2 separate regions of the Homo sapiens genome follow, and region 2 is linked to region 1. The links are contacts of gene promoters, found by promoter capture Hi-C in human tissues and cell types (Jung and others, 2019). All regions are on one chromosome and are shown on one strand. The core of a region is centred on a gene start or on the middle of the fragment in contact, and the rest is flanking DNA. Distances in the headings are between cores, read along the strand shown.

The links. Contacts are between HindIII fragments. The study calls those that stand out against the background at their distance.
Region 2: a fragment that was not itself captured here is called in contact with the fragment with the promoter of CEP19 in region 1 in 3 of the 25 tissues and cell types used here (IMR-90 fibroblasts, bladder and small bowel).

Annotation. Positions count from the first base shown.
Region 1 is chr3:196,710,564-196,714,523 of GRCh38, forward strand. CEP19 (centrosomal protein 19) reads right to left here and starts at 1,687. Exons shown (of 3, transcript NM_032898.5): 1 at 1,366-1,687. PIGX (phosphatidylinositol glycan anchor biosynthesis class X) reads left to right here and starts at 1,814. Exons shown (of 6, transcript NM_017861.4): 1 at 1,814-2,081. The coding sequence starts at 1,970. RefSeq lists silencers at 1,437-1,749, 1,584-2,213. The HindIII fragment of the contact is 13,108 bases long and covers 1-3,960 here.
Region 2 is chr3:196,304,124-196,308,083 of GRCh38, forward strand. It overlaps DYNLT2B (dynein light chain Tctex-type 2B), which reads right to left. Exons shown (of 5, transcript NM_152773.5): 3 at 2,820-2,889. Among named protein-coding and RNA genes, the nearest start is that of DYNLT2B, 12 kb to the right of the region's middle. The HindIII fragment of the contact is 6,550 bases long and covers 1-3,960 here.

The sequences.
Region 1 (3,960 bases), core at 437-2,936:
GTGGTGGCTCAGGCCTGTAATCCCAACACTTTGGGAGGCCAAGGAGAGGAGATACCTTGAGGCCAGGAGTTTGAGACCAGCCTGGGCAACACAGCGAGACCATGCATGTCTCTACAAAAAATTTAAAAATTGGCCAGGCATGGCAGCATGCACCTGTAGTCCCAGCCACACCAAAGGCCAAGGTGGGAGAATCGCCTGAACCCAGGAGTTTGGGGCTGCAGTGAGTTGAGATGGTGCCACTGCACAACAGCCTCTCCAAAGCATGATACGCCTATTCTTAAAAAAAAAAAAAAAAAAAAAAAAAACTACTTTAAAAAATTACTGTGCTCTACCTCTAATCTGATGCAATGAGCTCACACCATTTCTCCTTCTTTTCCTTCTCTTTTCTTGCTTTTTTTTTTTTTTTAACGAATACTATTCCCAATTCACCTAACTAAAATTTGATGTTAGTAAACTACAACCTACGGGGCACATATAAACTCCACACACTGAAGCAATGGCTGTACTCGTCAAAGATGTATGCAGTTGGTACTCAAATAATGTAGTTTTTTTTTTACTAGACTCTTTTTAAAATTTAACTTTAATTTTTGCTAAAGTAATGTTTGTATTTGGAATATAAAATAATTCTATGAGGCTTATAACAACAAACTATCGTCCTTGGCCCTACTCCTCTTCATAGGGAGCCAGACTGAATTTTAAAAGGCATATCTTCCAAAATTTCTCTCTCCATTTCTTAAGAAACATGCTTATACTACCATTTTCAGTTTTTTTTTTTCTTTTGAAACAGAGTCTCCCTCTGTCGCCTAGGCTGCAGTGCAGTGGCGTGATCTCCCCTCGCTGCAACCTCCGCCTCCTGGGTTCAAGCGATTCTCGTGCCTCAGCCTCCCGAGTAGCTGGAATTACAGGTGCCTACCACCATGCCCAGCTAATCTTTGTATTTTCAGTAGAGACGGGGTTTCGCCATCTTGGCCAGGCTGGTCTCGAACTCCTGACCTCAGGTGATTCGCCCAAAGTGCTGGGGCTATAGGCGTGAGCCACCTGCCCGGCTATTTTCAGTTTTGGATAGTATGTTTTGACATACACTCTGTTTCCTCTTTGAGACACCCGCTCTAGAGCCCTCTATTCCACTCCAAGCCGCCTGGATGCTCTCTTGGCCTGCTTACAGATTCCACTCTGTTTAGGAAGAAGGACGGCACGTTTATCCAATTATTCTTCCTGGACACGAATACTCCTCTCCCCAGAGATCAGTAACTGCCCACAATCTTGTTAGGAAGCCCCACAGCACCTAAGGGTACGAATGTCCCCAAAGAGTAGACGATTCTCTCCCTACTCACGTCTCCACTAGTGCAAGGCTGGCTTTCTTACCCTTAGAGGAATACAGAAATGACATCGTCTGCAGGCCAACGTCTAAACAACCAGGAGTGGGTTTTTCCACCCAACCGCAGTGCACGCAAAGCCCCTAAGCCGACTGTGAGACCGGGCGGAGCCTGGCGCTGCAGGAAGAGGCGACAGCCACAGCCCTACTGACGAGCCCGAGGGGTGAACTCCCCGGCGGGAGGCCCGAACCCTCAAACACCGGGAAGCGGAGGTGGGGGCCGGCTGGGGGACCGGTCCACCGGCTCCCACCTCGGCGTACAGGGATTCCAGGTCCCGGCGAGCGCTGGCCTAGCGGTTTCCACAGCGACAGGCCGGGCGCGCGTCCCCGCGCGTGCGCAGCTCCTCGCCCGCCCCCGGGTGGGCGGAGCAAGGAACAGCTGGGCGGGGACGACCGCCCCACGCCGCGCGGGAACCCTTGGGGGCCGGGGCTGCAGGCAGCTGGGAACCGCGGGCGCTAGGCGCGCGCACCCAGCACTCGGTCCCAGCCGATAAATCTGGGGCAGCGCGCGGTAGGAGCTGCGGGCGGCCAGGCCCCTTCCTGCGTCCGCACCTGGCCCCGCGCGCCCCTCTCGGGCGTCCGGCTTCCGGCGTCCTGGCGGCTCGGGTGGCGGCGGTTCGGGCGGCCGCCTGGCTGCTCCTCGGGGCGGCGACCGGGCTCACGCGCGGGCCCGCCGCGGCCTTCACCGCCGCGCGCTCTGACGCCGGTAAGGGGGGCGGGGCTTGGGGGGCCAGAGCGTGGGAGCGGTCCCGGCTCCCGGGCCTCTCGGCGGGTTGCGGGGATGTGGGGACCCGGCGCGGGACCTAGATCAGTAGGGCGAGCCGGAGGAGGTCAGACACTAGAGCCGTGTGCCCTCCTTCCCTCCCGTGCGCTTTGCTCTGCGGCGGATCCCGGGTCTCCGGGAGAGTCGGGCTCGGGCCCTGCGGTTCCCAGGCTGGACTGGCCGCCCTGTTACTAAAGTTCTGAGAAGGAAAGTCAGCCGTCAAGCGTCTTGGGATGCTCTTGAGCTGCACGAAGCTTCTGATCACCAAGGGGCCAGGCAAGGCCTTAGCGCCCTGTGAGGCCTGAGAATCCCCAAACTGAATGTAGGACTCCGTGGCAAACTGCTAGTTGTTCGTGCAAGTAGTAGTTGGCAAACTGCTTGTACTACTGAGACGGGCAAGTGCGGGAATAATTACAATAAAGGGTAAGGTTTGATGGGAGGAAAGCACAAACCCTACAAGTTTCTCCATCTGTAAAATGAGGATGTTTCTGTCATCCTTGGTATCATTTAGATCCGTTTAGTATCTGTCAATCAGTGCAGTTCTGCTTGTGTGTTTACATATTGGGTTTTCAAGTTTATCTAAACAAAGGATTATGAGGCCAAGAAGATTTTTTTTTTGAGATGGAGTCTCACTCTGTTGCCAGGCTGGAGTGCAATGGCGCGATCTCGGCTCACTGCAACCTCCGCCTTTCCCAAGTTCAAGCAATTCTTCTGCTTCAGCCTCCCAAGTAGCTGGGATTATTACAGGTGCCCGCCACCATGCCCAGCTAATTTTTTGTATTTTTAGTAGAGACGGGGTTTCGCCGTATTGGTCAAGCTGGTCTTGAACTCCTGACCTCAGGTGGTCCACCCTCCTCAGCCTCCCAAAGTGCCAGGATTACAGGTGTGAACTACCATGCTCGGCCAGAAGAATTTTTAAACAGTTGGATTTGGTAATCTGTAGAGGCTTCCAACGTTAGCATTTTATAATTGAAAAGGGGTCAAAATTAGCGGGGCGTGATGGCGTGCCCCTGTAGTCCCAGCTACTCAGGGGGCTAAGGCAGGAGAATCGCTTGAACTAGGGAGGCGGAGGTTGCAGTGAGCCGAGATCGCGCCATTGCACTCCAGCCTGGGTGACAGAGGGAGACTCTGTCTCAAAAAAAAAAAAAAAAAGGAAAAAGAAGTCAATTTCCAGAGCCAGTTCACCACTACCAAAGTAATAGTTAAGAGGAAAAATGTTGAAGGTAAATTCACATTCAACAAATTCGTTTTAAAAATGGTACTTTTGCCTTTAAAATCATGACATTCTAGTATTTGCTGTACTATTTGTAAATTAGCCTTTCTCCGGTCCCAATGATCAACTGCTGTCTGGTGTACATACCAGTAGAATTTAAGCCTGTTCATAATTTTTCTTCTAATTTAATTTATAGTTGGATAGCAGTCCTCACTTCCCACCCTACCCCCATTAAAATTAAACAGGATGAAGAAAGATCTGGATTTGTGCTGGGCACAGTGGCTCACACCTGAAATTCTAACACATTGGGAGGCTGAGGTGGAAGGATTGCTTGAGGCCAAGAGTTCAAGACCAGCCTGGAAAACATAGCAAGACCCTGTCTCTGCAAAAAAATTTAAAAGTAGCCAGGTGTGGTGGCGTGGGCCTATAATCCTAGCTACTTGGGAGGCCGATGTGGGAGGATTGCTTGAGCTCAGAAGTTCAAGGCTGCAGTGAGCTGTGATCATGCCACTGCATTCCAGCTTGTGTGACAGAGTAAGGCCCTGTCTCTTTTTTTTTTTTTTTTTTTGAGACGGAGTCTTGCTCTCTTGCCAGGCTAGTGCAGTGGCG
Region 2 (3,960 bases), core at 946-3,445, 410 kb before region 1:
CTTGGTTTTTTTATTTTTTTATTTTTTGAGATAGAGTTTCACTCTGTTCCCCAGGCTGGAGTGCAGTGGCGTGATCTCAGCTCACTGCAACCTCCACCTCCCAGGTTCAAGCAATTCTCCTGCCTCAGCCTCCAAGTGGCTGGGGTTACAGGTGTGCACCACCATGCCCGGCTAATTTTTTGTAATTTTAGTAGAGACAGGGTTTCGCCAGGTTGGCCAGGCTGGTCTCGAACTCCTGACCTCAAGTGATCCACCCACCTCGGTCCCCCAAAGGGCTGAGATTACAGGTGGGAGCCACTGCACCTGGCCAAAAACTGTTTTTTTTAAACAAAGGTAATGGCTAAGAATTTTCCCAAACTGATAAAAAAAATCAACCTGGCTGGGTGCAGTGGCTCACACTGGTAATCCCAGGACTTTAGAAGGCCGAGCATGGTGTTGGCACCTATACTCCCAGCTACTCGGGAGGCTGAGGCAGGAGAATCTCTTGAACCTGGGAGGCAGAGCTTGCAGTGAGCCAAGATCGCACCATTGCACTACAGCCTGGGAGACAAAAGCGAAACTCCATCTCAAAAAAAAAACAACAAAAAAATCAATCCATAGATTCAAGAGACTCTGAGTGCTCTAAGCAGAATAAATACAAAGAAAGTAATAGTGGCTAGAGAGGACATACCATCTTAAATTGAATAATAAAACTTACAGCTGACTTCTCAACAGAAACAATGGAAACTAGAAGACAAGGTAAGCACTTATCTACCTACCTACCTACCTACCTATCTGAGGCAGGGTCTCACTCTGTCACCCAGGCTGGAGTACAGTGGCACAATCACGGCTTACTGCAGTCTCAACCTTCCTGGGCTCAAGAGGTCCTCCCACCTCAGTCTCTCAAGTAGCTGGGACCACAGGCGTGTGCCACCATGCCCGGCTAATTTTTGTATTTTTTTGTAGAGACAGAGTTTTGCTGTGTTGCCCAGGCTGGTCTGGAACTCCTGGGCTCAAGTGATCCTCCTGCCTCAGCTTCCCAAAGTGCTGGGATTACAGGTGTGAGCCACCACGCCCGGCCCTGATGGGAAACTTTATAATAGATGGATCCATCTGACAATATCTGAACTCCATGATCAACCTTAACAAAGCAAAAAGAGATGACCAGCTATTTTGTACCTTCTGAGAAGATGCAATAGGATGTATAGAAAACAGTATTTCCCCAACCTCAAACCTATGGCTAATTAAGACTAGATCTAACTACTTATTTTCAAGAAGTACAGGAAATAGAAGACATATTAAACAATACCATAGGTATATAATCAGCAACTGCCAGAATATAGGAAACTCTACAGGACAAACAAACCAATTTCTTCAACAAATAAATGGCAGGAAAAAATAAATAAATAAATAACTGACAGGGCACAGTGGCTCACGCCTGCAATCCCAGCACTTTGGGAGGCCAAGGTGGGTGGATCACCTGAGGTCAGGAGTTGGAGACCAACCTGGCCAACATGGTGAAACCCCATCTCTACTAAAAATACAAAAATTACCTGGGCGTGGTGGTGAGCGCCTGTAATCCCAGCTACTCAGGAGGCTGAGGCAGGAGAATCACTTGAACCCGGCAGGCAGAGGTTGCAGTGAGCCGAGATCATGCCACTGCACTCCAGCCTGGGTGAGGAAGCAAGACTGTCATAAAAATAAAATCAAATGGCAGGATTAAAAGAAGAAAGAGAGAAATGAGGCAGCAAAAACAACACATTGAAGTAAATTTAAAGCCAGATGCTGTGGTGTGCACCTATAGTCCCAGCTACCTGGCAGGCTGAGGTGGGAGGATCACTTGAGCCCAGGAGTTCTAGTCTGTAGTGTGTTATGATCACATCTGTGAATAGCCACTGCACTCCAGCCTGGGCAAGATAGCAAGATCTTACGTCTTAAAAAAAAATCCTAATTTACATATTAACCAAATGCAATGTGTGGACCTTGTTTGAATCTTAATTTGAAAAAATTGTAAAAAGAAAATAATAGGTCTGGCATGGTGGTTCAAGCCTATAAGTCCACCACTTTAGGAGGCCAAGGCTGGTGAATTGCCTGAGCCCAGGAGTTTAAGACCAGACTGGCCAACAGAGTGTGACCCATCTCTGCAAAAAAAAAAAAAAAAAAGAAAGAAAGAAAATTAGCCAGGTGTGGTGGTGCACACCTGCAGTCCCAGCTACTCAGGAGGCTGAGGCAGGAGGATCACTTGAGCCCAGGAGGCCAAGGCTGCAGTGAGTTGTGATAGTGCCATTGCACACCAACCTGGGTGACAAAATGAGACCCTGTCTCTTTAAACAAAAAAAAAAGAAAAGAAAGAAAACACATACATACATATATGAGGCATATCTGAATAATAACAGCATATTTTATGATATTAAGGACTGACAATATTTTAGAGATAATAAAGATATTTTATTTATTTATTTTTGAGACAGAGTCTTACTCTGTCACCCAGGCTGGAGTGCAATGACACGATCTTGGCTCACTGCAACCTCCACCTCCTGCGTTGAAGTGATTCTCCTGCCTCAGCCTCCTGAGTAGCTGGGACTACAAGCGCACGCCATCACACCCGGCTAATTTTTAGTAGAGACGGGGTTTCGCCATGTTGGCCAGGCTGGTCTTGAACTCCTGACCTCAGGTGATCCACCCGCCTCAGCCTCCCAAAGTGCTGAGATTACAGGTGTGACCCATCACACCCGGCCCTTCTCACTCTTGTAAAGGCACTCTTACTGAATTGTCCAAAGGACAGATACCTCATAAGAAATATAGATGACTAAAACAAGAAGGAAAATCCAGCTACTCACAATACTCCTTCACCTCTTTGTTCTCCAATCACTACTTGCACCACCATTTTGTATCGGTCAAATCCCATTTCTAGAAAGAAAAAATAAGGTTATTTATAAGCAAATATGTAGTAAAATTACTTATTGAAGACAAATTTGCCCAGAAATGGACATAAACATTCAATCCACAAGTACTTAATGAATATGGTGGTAAGCTTGGGGGTCAGGAGGACGTGAAGGCAGATCCTAACTATAACTCAGCAAGTGTATAACCTCAGAAAGTAATTTAACTTTTCAGTTTAAGTCTCCCTTATTAAACAGGAATATCAGTACCTACCTCCCAAGATTGTTATAAGGTTAGGTAAGATATAGTAGTATCTTTTTTTTGTTTTGTTTTTGAGATGGATTCTCACTCTGTTGCCCAGGCTGGAGTACAGTGGCACGATCTCAGCTCACCGGCAACCTCTGCCTCCAGGGTTCAAGTGATTCTCCTACCTCAGCCTCCTCAGTAGCTGGGACTACAGGTATGCATCACCACACCTGGCTAATTTTTGTATTTTTAGTAGAAAAGGTGTTTCACCATGTTGCCCAGGCTGGTCTCGAACTCCTGACCTCAGGTGATCCACTCACCTTGGCCTCCCAAAGTGCTGGGATTACAGGCGTGAGCCACCGCGCCCGGTCAGATATAGTAATATCTAAAGCATCTAAACAGTGCTGTTAAATACTAGTCCTTCAATAAACCTTAGCTTCCTTCCTTTTTCCCCTACTATAAGTCAGCTAGTGAGCTGAACCTTCAAGATAGAGAAATAAATAAGACGTTTTTCTTGCCTTAAAGAACTCACAGTAATAAAGAACTCAAAGGAAAATAGAAAAATAGGCCGGGCACGGTGGCTCACGCCTGTAATCCCAGCACTCTCAGAAGGTGAGGCCAGTGGATCACCTGAGGTCAGGAGTTTGAGACAAGCCTGGCCAACATGGTTAAGCCCCGTCTCTACTAAAAAATATAAAAATTAGCCAGGCATGGTGGCAGATCCCTGTAACCCCAGCTACTCGGGAGGCTGAGGCAGGAGAATTGCTTGAACCTGGGAGGCGGAGGTTGCAGTGAGCTGAGATCGCACCATTGCACACTAGCCTGGGTAACAAGAGCAAAACTCCATCTCGA